3 separate regions of the Homo sapiens genome follow, and all the other regions are linked to region 3. The links are contacts of gene promoters, found by promoter capture Hi-C in human tissues and cell types (Jung and others, 2019). All regions are on one chromosome and are shown on one strand. Each heading gives the region's core, a stretch centred on a gene start or on the middle of the fragment in contact. The rest is flanking DNA. Distances are from core to core; before and after follow the strand shown. Region 1 overlaps RAD54B (RAD54 homolog B). Region 2 has its middle 130 kb from the start of PDP1. Region 3 holds the start of GEM (GTP binding protein overexpressed in skeletal muscle).

Evidence for each region. The method cuts DNA at HindIII sites, captures the fragments that hold promoters and counts their contacts. A contact is called where the count stands out against the background at its distance.
Region 1: a contact is called between a fragment that was not itself captured here and the fragment with the promoter of GEM in region 3, in 1 of the 25 tissues and cell types used here (hippocampus).
Region 2: a contact is called between a fragment that was not itself captured here and the fragment with the promoter of GEM in region 3, in 4 of the 25 tissues and cell types used here (H1 embryonic stem cells, IMR-90 fibroblasts, mesenchymal stem cells and 1 more).

What each region holds. Positions count from the first base shown.
Region 1 is chr8:94,431,241-94,435,565 of GRCh38, forward strand. All of the region lies in intron 3 of RAD54B (RAD54 homolog B), which reads right to left. It overlaps FSBP (fibrinogen silencer binding protein), which reads right to left. Exons shown (of 2, transcript NM_001256141.2): 2 at 1-1,416. The coding sequence ends at 891. Among named protein-coding and RNA genes, the nearest start is that of FSBP, 3.5 kb to the right of the region's middle. RefSeq lists an enhancer at 3,560-4,060. The HindIII fragment of the contact is 5,994 bases long and covers 1-4,325 here.
Region 2 is chr8:94,045,296-94,049,555 of GRCh38, forward strand. No RefSeq gene overlaps it. Among named protein-coding and RNA genes, the nearest start is that of PDP1, 130 kb to the left of the region's middle. The HindIII fragment of the contact is 5,525 bases long and covers 1-4,260 here.
Region 3 is chr8:94,260,485-94,264,608 of GRCh38, forward strand. GEM (GTP binding protein overexpressed in skeletal muscle) reads right to left here and starts at 1,835. Exons shown (of 5, transcript NM_005261.4): 1 at 1,606-1,835; 2 at 1-28. The coding sequence starts at 19. RefSeq lists a silencer at 1,077-1,146. The HindIII fragment of the contact is 10,611 bases long and covers 1-4,124 here.

The sequences.
Region 1 (4,325 bases), core at 1,162-3,661, 170 kb after region 3:
AAGAAATTTTTTCCAGAACAGGACATTCAAAATGAATTAAGACATGTCTTTAAATCACACAGCCAAAATATATAATAGCTTCAATGGAATACCTTATCTATTTTGCTGGAACAAAAATAGAGAGAGAATGGGGGTAATTGATGTAATTATCCTGATTTCACAACCTAACAATCTTTAAAGGCAATTTTAATGAAAGAAATGCTTCTAATATTTAAATCTAGAGAATGTTTTAGTGGATATTTACTTCTATCGAATAGCGGGATGGAAATTACACAAAGAAAAACTAAGTGCTGGTCTCTGCTCTGCCATAAATAGCTTTGTTACCCTAAGTAAGTCATTGAGTTCTCCCTGGACCTGTTTCATTACCCCTAAACTGCAGAGATGGAAAAAAAGTGTTCTCCAAATATCTTCCATCTCTAAAATCCTAGGATTTACTCCTTCAAAAGATAAAAGCATAAAAACCAATGTCATACAGACAAGCTTCTTGGTATTAGGTTAGTATAGCTCCTAAATTAGACTGACTTAAAAATCTCTAATTATAGCTTTCAAAGTTCTAACTAAAAATGTTGAAGACTCAGAACTTTGAAAGAATATGTGTTTGTATATGCATTTGTGTATATCTTAGTGATCAGAATAAAATATCTTTTGTAAGGTCAACAATTAAACTTAGGGAAAAAAAAAAGAAGACAATAAAAACTATAACCATGCCAACCAACCAGTAAATTTTAATATCTCAAAAGAAAATAATTAGAAAATTATATCTAAAAAGTTTTTCCATAATAGAGATTAACAACATTTTTCAAGAACGTGTATTCTGTTTCAGGATATTCCCAAATTAAAGTAATTTGGCCAAAATCAAAATTATCAAATTGCAAGATTGAAAAAAAAACTTAGAGACTGTTATATTCAGGTAGATCATGCCGTAAGCGAATTGCTTTCAGCTTCTCCACTTCAATTTTTGCTCTTAGTAGCTCTTCCTCTAGCTGCTGCCTTCTTTTCAATCCATCCCTCTTCTCCTGAACATACAATCCAAAATTTTTTTGATTTTCTAAAATTATCTGATGCTCCTCTTTCAACATTTGCAGGATCTGAGGATCATACCCTAATAGTGACCTAAAGTGTTCACCACTCTCATGCCGAAAAAAATCATCTCTCCTTGGAATAGAAGATGGAGACGATGTCATTCTCATATCAACAGAGGAAAGTGAAGGCGACAAGGATCTTTCCATAACATGTACTAATTCATGTTCTTCTCTTTGCTCTAAAGTATCACTCTGTTGAGAATTTAAAACCAGTGGAGGAGGTGGTTTAATGTCTTCTTCTTGCTTCACCTCCACTGTAATAGCAACAGGATGGTGATCCAACATTACCTGTAGTGAACTGGTACCAGCCTGTGCCTCCTCATCCAAGTTTGCACTATAGCACACAAAAAAGCATTATAATATGTAAATCAAATGAAGAAAAAGTGTATATTTATAGCATAATTTTAATTTAATGTACATTAAATGATAAAGCTTTAAAACTATAAAGTTACAAAATAAAAAAAAATCTTAAACACTTGAAATACATTAAAGTGACTAAGATTGGGATTTCAATAATACATACTCACAGATCTCCCCCATCCTTAACTTTAAAATTGTGCTTTAAAGGAGCAGGAAATTACAAATATTATAGAAGGCCAATGAAGAAAATAAAAAGAAAAGCCAGTTTTCATGTTGTCAAACAGACACCAATCTTTCCCACAACCCTAAGGTTTTCAAATGGTGTACAGAGCCATTTAATGCATTCTCAGTCTTGTTATCCCCATACCTTAGCCCTAGACCTCAGGCTTCTGCTCTCCTGGACTGATCTTAAAACCATGAAGGCCCATAACTTATAAAAGGACAGTGAAAGGCCATCTATGGGAGGTACTGATTTCTGCATTTGCCCAAAAAATAAAACATAAAGATTGTATATGGCTTTGGGATATGCTCAACTACTGGAGGTTATCCTAACTTTCTTATTTCAGATGCTTTTATCTGATAGGAAAAACTTCCGTTTTACCTATTCTGAACCATATGACTCAGATGCTGTTTAAGTCTTTCAATCACTGGTCAGGTAAAGTTCACAAGAGCAATGGTTTTAATCCACAACTGTATACTCAGTACCTAGCAGGTACTGTACTTAGAACCTAGTAGGTGCTCATTATGTGTTGAATGACTGAAAAAAAACAAACTAAATGATTTTTTAATGAAACATTTTTAATGGCCTATACAGATATATTAAAGGTTTATTAAATTTACACATAATTTCCACCAAATATGCATTCCCAATGGAGACAACTACAGCTTTAGCATAATTTAAGCTTCAGCATAACAAGTTATGATATTATAAATGCAATAAACCTTAAAATTCTGTTTTATAAACATAATTTTATGTATAACGTGAAGCTGTGAATTAAGAATATCTGCTCCTTGAGGTTGTTTTTTTTAATTTATGCTTCTGCCTAACTTAAAAATAAAAGTTATAAAGGGAAATTAGATCATTGAACATGAATGGAAATACTTTATTTAATATTATTTAGAGAAGATTTTACATATAATAAGAAACATAATTAAAAGAATACATTCTACATGGATGATTAAAATGCTGGAACAAGTTCAAGCAGAATGCATAGAAAAAGATTAAAACTACCCATACGTTACTTACTAATGCCATTAAATTGCCAGAAATATCAGATATTTATCTAAGAGACAAAATGAAACATATATAGTATATAATAAAAAATCTATTTGTAGGTTATATAAATTCATTTTTGTTCTTGTCTCTGTTTGTGTCATTTTATTATTTCCAAAAACAAAACAATTAATTATAAATGTAATTCAAAGTAGCAAGCTCTGCTTCTATTAATAGCTCTGCTAAAACCTGGAATGGGAAAAGGCTAAAATTGCATATGAAAATTAAGTTTTTAAAACCACATAATTACTATTTCAAATTAGTATGTAAAATAGAGAGTATAAACATAGACATAATACTACCAAGTAAATTAAAAATATGCCTCATATCTGGAACATTCCTTTCCATTTTAGCTAAAACATTACAACTAAGGCATAACAATATAAAAAGGGAGAAAAAAAGCTTTAGAGCAGGTCACAAAAATGACAGAGAAGGACTTGAGAATCAGAACTTTGAAGATCAGTTTACAAAAACACAAAATATAAACTGATATTAGGAAGAGGTAAAAATAAAGACATAAGTCAATGTGAGTTACAGAAAATAAATAGCCTTACAAAACAGGTATATATTTTTAAGTATGTTAACGCAAACACTAGTATTTTCCTTATTAAAAAGGAAGAGTTTGGTAAGATTAACAGGCATATTTATGTAGAAGTATAGTTAAGATTATAGAATAATTATAAACTTCTGAGATTATTAAGATTCAAGGATGATATCAATCAAATAAATATAAGCACATTAAATATATATATTAAAGAAATAAGCTAATACAGAGAAAATGTCAATGTAGACACAGTAACATAAGAATTTAAAAGGCATGTTTCTTATATTCTTCCCTTTAAAACCTAACAAATTGGTATTATTTAAGCCATAGGTATAGAAATGTACAAATCAACTCATTTTTATCAGAGAAATGTTCATATCCCAAAAGATTTTTTGTGTGTGAATATTGTAAATATTCACACACACAAATAGTCAAAATGTAACCAGATACTTGTATATTTATATATTATTTTTCTTCTACTCACTGTTATTTTTAAAATATGCAACTAACTAAAATTACAGTTTCTACATGTCGTTTTCAAATTATAAAAACCTATACCTACTAACCAAAGGGTACAGTTTTATACCTGCGATGCAAAAAACACTTTTCTCCATGGTTCAAGGGAGAGAAAATTCTGCATAAGTAGCACAGTATAAAACAATTTTACTGCGTAGTTTTCTGGATATCTAGCTATTGGGATTTCATCATTTGTCATCACAGTGAACATTTTAACCAGTGGCCCCAAGAATTAATCCACTGTGTATTCATGTCCTGGATTCCCACTGGTGATATTTTTTTTACTGTGCTATCAAGTAGAAATAAGCAGTATCTGGTAAGAAGCTAGGCTCAAAAATACTTTCCTAGTAAATTACCAAAATAACATATGCACTTGGCTACAAAGTGGTTTTTTTCTGCTTCTCTCCTAATTTCAAAGGGATTTCATAGTAATCAATAATTTGCTTATATAATGCCTCTTCCACCAATAGAAAAGCACATTGTGTAAAGCTTTGTTTGAAAGGCTCCTCAAACTAACAAGGAGTTTACAATTTGTTTAAATTACCCTAAA
Region 2 (4,260 bases), core at 661-3,160, 220 kb before region 3:
CAAAATTTCATGTTTCACAAAATTGCAATTAAAGCAAAAATGAGGATGACAACTCCTTAGGGATACAAACGTCTTCCTTGACGACCTGCTCAAAAGACATCTACAAAGCAAAGCTTCTTAAAAGGGATTTTGACACCAGGAGCTTGTGTTTTGACACTGGAATGTGCCTGGAAAACAATTCTTGGGCCCCTTTGATGCCTGGTGCTATCTAACCCACAGTGAGAAGGCTGTGAAGAGGAGGGCGCAAAATAAAGCCCAAGTGGTCCTCACAGCGCAGCCCCTGCAGCCCCTGATGGTGGGGAAACATCAGTCACCTGAGGAATTAACGAACATGCCGGTTAAAATGCTCCCACCTCAGAGATTCTGATTCAGTAGCTCTGGGGAAGGATCTGCACATCCACATTTAAAGAAATTTCTGACGCTGATGGTTTGGAGACCTCCCTTTGAGAAGCACTGCCGTATGTTCTGAAGGAAGAGAACCAACAGCATGGTGATGGACTAGGCTCAGAGGGAGGCCTCCGCTGGGAACCTGACTTGGGTAGATTTGCCCCAGGACTTCAGGAAGGGGAGACCTGGTGCCCAGCTGCATTCCTCGTTGAGTTGTGTCATTCCATTCTTACTAAAGCCTTTGGCAAAGTTTTGTGAACCTGCCCTGGGAAGCAGCTGGCATGGTGTGGAGGTAGTTGGCTGGCAGGAAGTGTAGAGAGGACAAGCCAGGGCAGGGTTTGGTGTAAGTGGTGAGAGGCACCCGCCATGCTGTGTGAGTAGATCCATCCCTTGGACTCTGGCACTATCTGGGAGCATACACGACATCCTGCTGTCAGGGCACAGTGACTCAAGGCCAGGGTGACAAAGGCCAAGAAGTAGGACAAGAGGACAAAGAGACACACAGCTACACCTGGGAGATGTGGGCATCAGAAACTTGTTCACTTTCTGAATCACCCTCCTCATGACCACTGGACCAAACCTGCCTTCCCTTCTCCCCGCTTAGGCATGGATCCTTTCCCAGATGGGGCCTCACCTTTCCTTCACTTTCCAAGAAGGCCTGGTCTCCTCTGAGTCCCAGTAATGAACCAGGGTGGTTGGTCAGAAGCTAGGATGATCACTATGTGTGTGTTTTTTTAAGTATATGCCCATTTTCTAAAAAAATGGAGGCAGAATTCACGTGAAATTAACCATTTTAAAATATGTAATTTGTTATGTTAGCATTTAGTACATTTGCAATGTTATGCAACCATTAACACTATCTAGTTCTAAAACTTTTTTCCTTTTAAATTGACTGCTTTTAGAGTAGTTTCAGGTTGTCAGTAAAATGGAGCAGAAAGTACAAAGAATTCCCACGTACACCCTGCCTCCATCACACAACCCCATCACCATGACACATTTGTTACAGTCAGTGAACTGACATTGACATGTCATTATCACCCAGACTCCAGCGTTCACATTAGGGTTCACTGTTGGTGTTATACACTCCATGGGTTTGCACAAGAGATGACGTGTATCTATTACAGTAGCATACAGAATAGTTTCACTGCCCTAAAAATCCTCCAGACCTCTGCCTATTCATCCCTTCTTCCTCTCTAACCTCTGGCAGCCACTGATCTTTTTACTGTCTCCATAGTTTTCACTTTCCGGAATGTCATATAGTTGGCAGCATGCATTACGTAGCCTTTTCAGATTAGCATCTTTCACTGAGTAATATGCATTTAAGTTGCCTTCATTTTTTTATGGCTTGATAACACATTTCTTTCTAGCACTGAATTATATACTATTGTTTGGATGTCACATCGTTTATTTGTTGAGAGACTGAATATGCAAATGGACAATGGCCAGACCATATATAAAACTAGAACTTTAACTCACAATCTGCAGCAATCTGCCTGGGAGACCAACCCTTTTATTTATAATAAACAACCCAGGAAGCCAGCCTGATATAAGTCCAACTTGCAGGAAGTGAGATTGTTATCTCTAGTGACAATTCAGGAGCTAAATAATAACCTCCGTAACAATCAGCCCCAAATGGCCAGAACTTGATTAATAACTGACGGCTTCCCTAATTTTTGTCCCCTCTTCCAATTTCAACTAGAGAAAGCCAAATATTCACCCCTAACCAATCATATACAATGCTCTGCTTCTAGTTAGCCTACCTGTAGCTTCCTAACTCCAACAGCCTCCCAACAGGGCACATCCGAAGCCTTCCCTTTTCTCCACTATCAAGCTTCCCCACTCTTTCCTGCCTTTGAGTCTCTGCCAAAATGCAAGCGGCAGTGGTGGATTCCCTTGCTATAGCAAGTTCAGAATAAATAGCTATGATGGTTGATTGTATATGTCAACTTGACTGGGCTAAGAGACAGCCAGATTGCTGGAAAAACATTATTTCTGGGTAACCTGAGAGGGTGCTTCTGGAAGAAAGGAGCATTTGAATTGGCCACTGAGTGAAGAAGATCATCCTCCCCAGTGCAGGTAGTCATCATCCAAACTGTTGAGGGCCTAAATAGAACAAAAGGTGGAGGAAGGGCGAATTTGTTCTCTCTGATCTGGAACATCCATATTCTCCTCCCCTGGGACATCAATGCTCCTGGTTCTCAGGCCTTCATCCTTGGACCAAGACTTCTACCGTGACCTCTGGGGTTCCCAGGCCTTAGGACTCAGATTGGGGCTTACGCCATTGGCTCCCCTGGTTCTCAGGCTTTCGAGTTTGGACCGAAACTACACCACTGACTTTCCTAAGCCTGCAGCTTGCACGTGGCAGATTATGGGACTTCTCAGCCTCCACAACTGCATGAGCCAATCCCTCATAATAATTCTCTTTTTATATATCTCTCTATATATATATCCTATTGGTTCTGTTTCTCTGGAGAATTCTGACTAATACAGTAGCCTGTGCTTTTCTCATTTGGTTGGTTTCCTATTTCCACATCATTCACATACTAAAGGACATCTTGTTTGCTGCTTCCAAGTTTTAATGGTAATGAATAAACCTGCTATAAACATCCTTGTACAGGTTTTTGTGTGGACATAAGTTTTTAGCTCACTTGGGTAAATAGGAAGGAGCACAATTGCTAGATTACCTGGTAAGAGGATGTCTCCTTTTGTAAGAAACTGTCAAACTAACTTCCAACATAGCCGTACCATTTTGCATTCTCGCCAGCAATGAATGAGAGTTCCTGTTGTTCCATGTCCTTTTGGTGCTGTCAGTATTCTGGAATTTTGGACATCCTAATAGTATAGTGGTATCTGATTGTTGCTTTAATTTGCACTTTCCTAATGACATATCATGTTGAGTATATTTTAATATATCTTCTTTGATGAGGTATCTGTTCAGGTCTTTTGCCCATTTTTTAATGGGGTTGTTTGTTAATATTTTTAAGTTTTAAGAGTTCTTTGTGTATTTTATACACAGTCCCTTATCAGATATGTCTTTTGCAGATATTTTCTCTCAATCTGTAGCTTGCCTCCTCATTCTCTTTATGGTGTCTTTCACAGAGAAGATAGTTTTCAACTTTAATAAATTCCATCTTGTCCATTTTTTTTCATGGATCATGCATTTGGTATTGTATCTAAAAAGTCATCTCCATACCCAAGGTCATCTAGATTTTCTTCTATCTAAAACATTTTCACCATCCCCAAAGGGCTATATGTTCTATGGGTTTTTTGCATACAATTTTCATATGTCCCCATTTGAGGAATAACATTCAGATTTCCCCCCACCTCGCCCCCAATGGGTTAAATTTTAGTTTCAGGGAGTAATGCACTTCTATGCTTTGTTTTATATGCTTTTTACAAACATGTGAAAGAGCATGCAAATTGCTTCTCAATTTCTGCCTGGGAAAATCTCAGCATGGATTGGGGAGTTCTACCAAATTTGAGTTGAGCAACTGTGTTCCAGGCCATAACCCAAATACATATATATATATATATATATATATATATATATATATATATATACATATATACATACATATATATACATATATACATATATGTATACATATATACATATATACATATATACATATATACATATATACGTATATACACACATATATACATATATACATATACGTATATGTATACATATATATACATATACGTATATACGTATATATATACGTATATATACGTATATATATGTGTGTATATATGTATATAGCCATTTGGACCCCTTTCCTACAGGATCCATGATAGTGAGAGTAGAGCATTATGAAAATGCTCTTTAAGGTTGAAATGTTTAAAATCCAAAGAAAAAGTAAAGTAGGC
Region 3 (4,124 bases), core at 585-3,084:
TGACATTATTCAGAGTCATCGTTGAGTCCTGGGGAGCAAAGCAGCCAAGATGGCAGCATTAGTAAGCATGAGTGAGAGCTCCGCTCAAATACATGGTCAGTCATCAGTAATATTTTATTAGATGAGATGAGAAGCAAGTATCCCTAACATAAAGACCACCAATTAAACAGTCCCCCAAACCCCAACAAGACAGGCTTTCAACTGGACACACACATGCTGCCCACACTGTCAGTAACCAGCTCCTCAGGCAGACTATCATTTGCATGGGAAAACAAATACGGTTAACATCACCCACTGCCCATGGGCTTCCCCCTTCCTCAAAGCAGACTTGGATGAAAGAAGAGCTGCACTCAGAGCTGGCACAAAGGCAGCTGGAAAGAACCAGCAGACTCCAAAGATGGCTTGAAAAGCAACAAGTTAATGTTGCTGGGGACCAGCTGGTCAGGTTAGCTGCTCTTGTCTAAACTTGGCTCTTAATTGCACCAGTGTCCAGCAGGTTTTGTGCCTCAGTGGGAAACACGTGGCAATGACATCACCCTCCCCTCCCCTGCCCACTGCAACCCTGGCTGGACTGGACAGGCACTTATTGGAACTTCCATGTTTAGTAAAGTTGCCTTGATGCTCTCCAGCTGCCTGGAGAGCATCCACCTGCCATTATTGGGGGTAGGGGGGAAATTTTCTGTTTAAAGTTTATGCCTCAGCTGTGCCCTCTTACCCACAGATACCACTTTTAAAACATCCCGGCTCCAAACCTAGACACCCTGGCAGAGAAATGACCTGCTCATGTTCAGACCTATGAAATTTGCAGAGAAAGTGCCTCATTCTTAAAAAACCACATCCATTCTCAAGAGTTCTTTAATTCAACTCAGATTCCTTTTTTGAGTCAGGGTCTTGCTCTGTCACCCAGGCTGGAGTGCAGTGGCACGATCATAGCTCACTGTAGCTAGCCTCCAACTGCCAGGCTCAAGAGATCCTCCACTTCAGCCTCCCAAGTAGCTGGGACTACAGACCTGCACTACCACGTCCACTAGTTTTTTTATTTTTATTTTTATTTTTTGGTAGAGACAGTGGCCTCACTATGTTGCCCAGGCTGGTCTCGAACTCCTGGGGTCAAGTGATCCTCCTGCCTCGGCTTCCGAAAGTGCTGAGATCACAGGCCTGAGCCACCATTCTCAGATCCCCTTCTTGAAGCAAATCAGAAGGCTGAAGACTCCCCTAAATGATATTCAACAACTTCTCTACAACTTTCCCTTTGCAGACTGCCTCCCCTAGCCGGGAGGTCTGTTTTTCCGGCTACTGGTGATAAAGTATAAGTACTTACGTTGCAATCAGCAAGATGCACAAACACTCCTCTCCCACCCTCACCCCCACACTCCGTACCCCAACATCTCGCCACTAACCAGGACGACCAGCCGGTTTTTTAGTCTCAAAAGCAGCACCTCAGTTGGCAGACTTACATTCAAACAACAAATACATAAAGCATCATTAAGGGCTGCCCTCTCTGACCACTCGATCTGTAGAGGGAGGTGACCCTTCTACCGAATTGAACTAAGGAACCTGCTGATGAGAAGCGACATCCTTTGCACTTGAAGCTCTGACCCCTACCAGAAAATCCCAGTGCTGAGCGCACGTTCCAGGGGTTCTTTTCTCAACTTCGAAAGTTCTGCGGGCTGGGAAACTCCCACTCTCTCCCTTCTCCGTCTCGGGCCGTCCCCCTTACTTGGCTCGGCCGGATCGGCGTCGGGGCGTCAGCGTATCGCGTGGGTCCGCGCTGGGATACCCGGGCCAACGAGCGGGGAGTGCTGCGCTGTGCCCGCCGTCCTTGCCCGCCGCCTGCAGCCGCCGCGGCCGGGCGGTTTATAACCAGCCCAGCCGACCCGCCGCGGGGCTTTTCCGTGACGTCAGCGCCCCCGCCGGGAGGGGGCGGCTCTGCAGCAAACTCGGAGTTGCAGCCACTTGGCTAAATCAGTTACTCGCAGTCATGTGACCCCTTCTCTCTCCATTTAAAAAATAATGACAGTTCAATCCTGGGCCTCCTTTATTTTGTTTTATTTTCTTTTTACCAGATGAACACAGGAAAATGGAAAAATACACTAAGTGACACTTAATCGTCCTTCCCAGCAAAGCACTTGCGAGCTGTCGGGATAAAGGATGGAAGGGAGAGGCAGGTTTGAGTTGAGAACTCAGTTTTGCCAAGAAAACAGAGATCAACCTGGAATGCGCAGAGACTTTAGCCTCCAGGATGAGACTGCAGCCACCTTGAATAGCCAAGGCTTGTTTTAACCACATCTTCTGCAACGAAGACAGCCTTGTCACCTTCTTCTGGATAGGGGGAAGCAGATGGAGCCCCACAAGGCTTTGTTTCCCTTCTCTGGCAAGGACCCAGAGAGAAGGGGCCAGAAAGAGGTGAGGAAAGAGGACAAGACCTTGAAAAGGGCAGTTTGGAAAAACAATTTAATTGAGGATCCAAGCAGATTGTGCTAAATATTGCTGGCCCTCCTGCTCTGGGCCAGAATGCTGAGGCTCCTCAATCAGGGAATTTAATCAGCATCCCAATCAGCAGCATCTCTGTACCAGGCTCCCTGGCAAGGCTACGCCTTGGGCATGAGCCAATACAGCCTGGCCATGGGGAGGAGCACTGAGACCAACACCCCTGTAAGAGACTCCTGTGAACAAAGGGCACAGGATAATAACTACTACTACCATTTATTAAGTACCTCTGAGGACCTCTGCTTAGTAGGTACTGTTAGGCCTCCTGGGACCTTAATCCTTACTATACTTCTGCAAGGTGGCTCTATTTCTACCCTCATTGTATGGAGGAGGAAGATAACATAGGGCCAGAGAATTTGCCCAAGGTCACACCGCTGGTATAAGTGGCAGGGTCAGGACTCAAAGCCTGGTTTTCCTGAGTCTCTGCACTGCACCACCAAGTGAAGGATTTCAATGACCTCTTTCTGGGGACATGGGTATTTCCCAGATGCTGTGTTTAGAGATGATGCTGGCCTCTCCAACATATCTGCTTTTCCAGCCAGCTTCAACTCTGGGTTGGCTGGTGGCTCCGGGAAGCAGCCAAAGGCACCAGCATCTATTGAAGCAGCTGGACTCTGCTGTGATTAGAGTCAATTCACAGTTATCCTGCAGGCATTTATCTGCTTTGAGAATTAGCTACATGACCAGCTGCTGAGACCTGCCAGGTCCCAAGCTAGCAAAGGTGGAATCCATAGAGTAATGAAAACTTAGAATTCCTTTAGTCTCAGGTGTTGTGGCCCCAATCTCCTACTTATCTTATACATAAGAAACCTGAGACCCAGAGAGGAGATGACCGCTTAGGACATGACAGAACTGGAACTACAACCTGGGGATCATAATTCTCTGGATGCCCTTTGCTTCTGTCAAGTTTTTCTTCTGGGTTTCGCTGACAGGAAGTGGCTACAGATGTGGGGAAAGGAAAAGGAGAGGAGATGGGGGGTGGGGGAGATCATCTCCAAGAGTATATCACTGACTCCATTCTAAAACACATGTAATTGATGAATAATCCATGTTTCAAAATGATCCATGCTTTTTCCATACTGACACTCCTACTCTGTCAACTGGTCTCAACAGAAACATCATAGGAGTAAAAACTAAGAAGAAATCAGTTTATAAGCATATGATATAGTTCCTCAGTTCTACTTTTGCCGATTGATAAGAATCTAATACTTCACATTTATAAAAACCTAATTCTGGCCAGGCACAGTGGCTCACGCCTGTAATCCTAGCACTTTGGGAGGCTGAGGTGGGTGGATCACGAGGTCAGGAGTTCAAGACCAGCCTGGCCAACGTAATGAAACCCTGTCTCTACTAAAAATACAAAAAAATAGCCGGGCATGGTGGTGGATGCCTGTAATCCCAGCTACTCAGGAGGCTGAGGCGGGAGAATCGCTTGAACCTGGGAGGCAGAGGTTGCAGTGAGCCGAGATCGTGCCATTGCACTCCAGCCTGGGCGACACAGCAAGACTCCATCTCAAAACAAACAAACAAAACAAACAAAAAAAAAACTAATTCCATACCTAGGCAATATCTACTATGAACTATTTGTCATTGGTATATGTGAAACATACAAAAGAAAATGAACTCCAGGGACT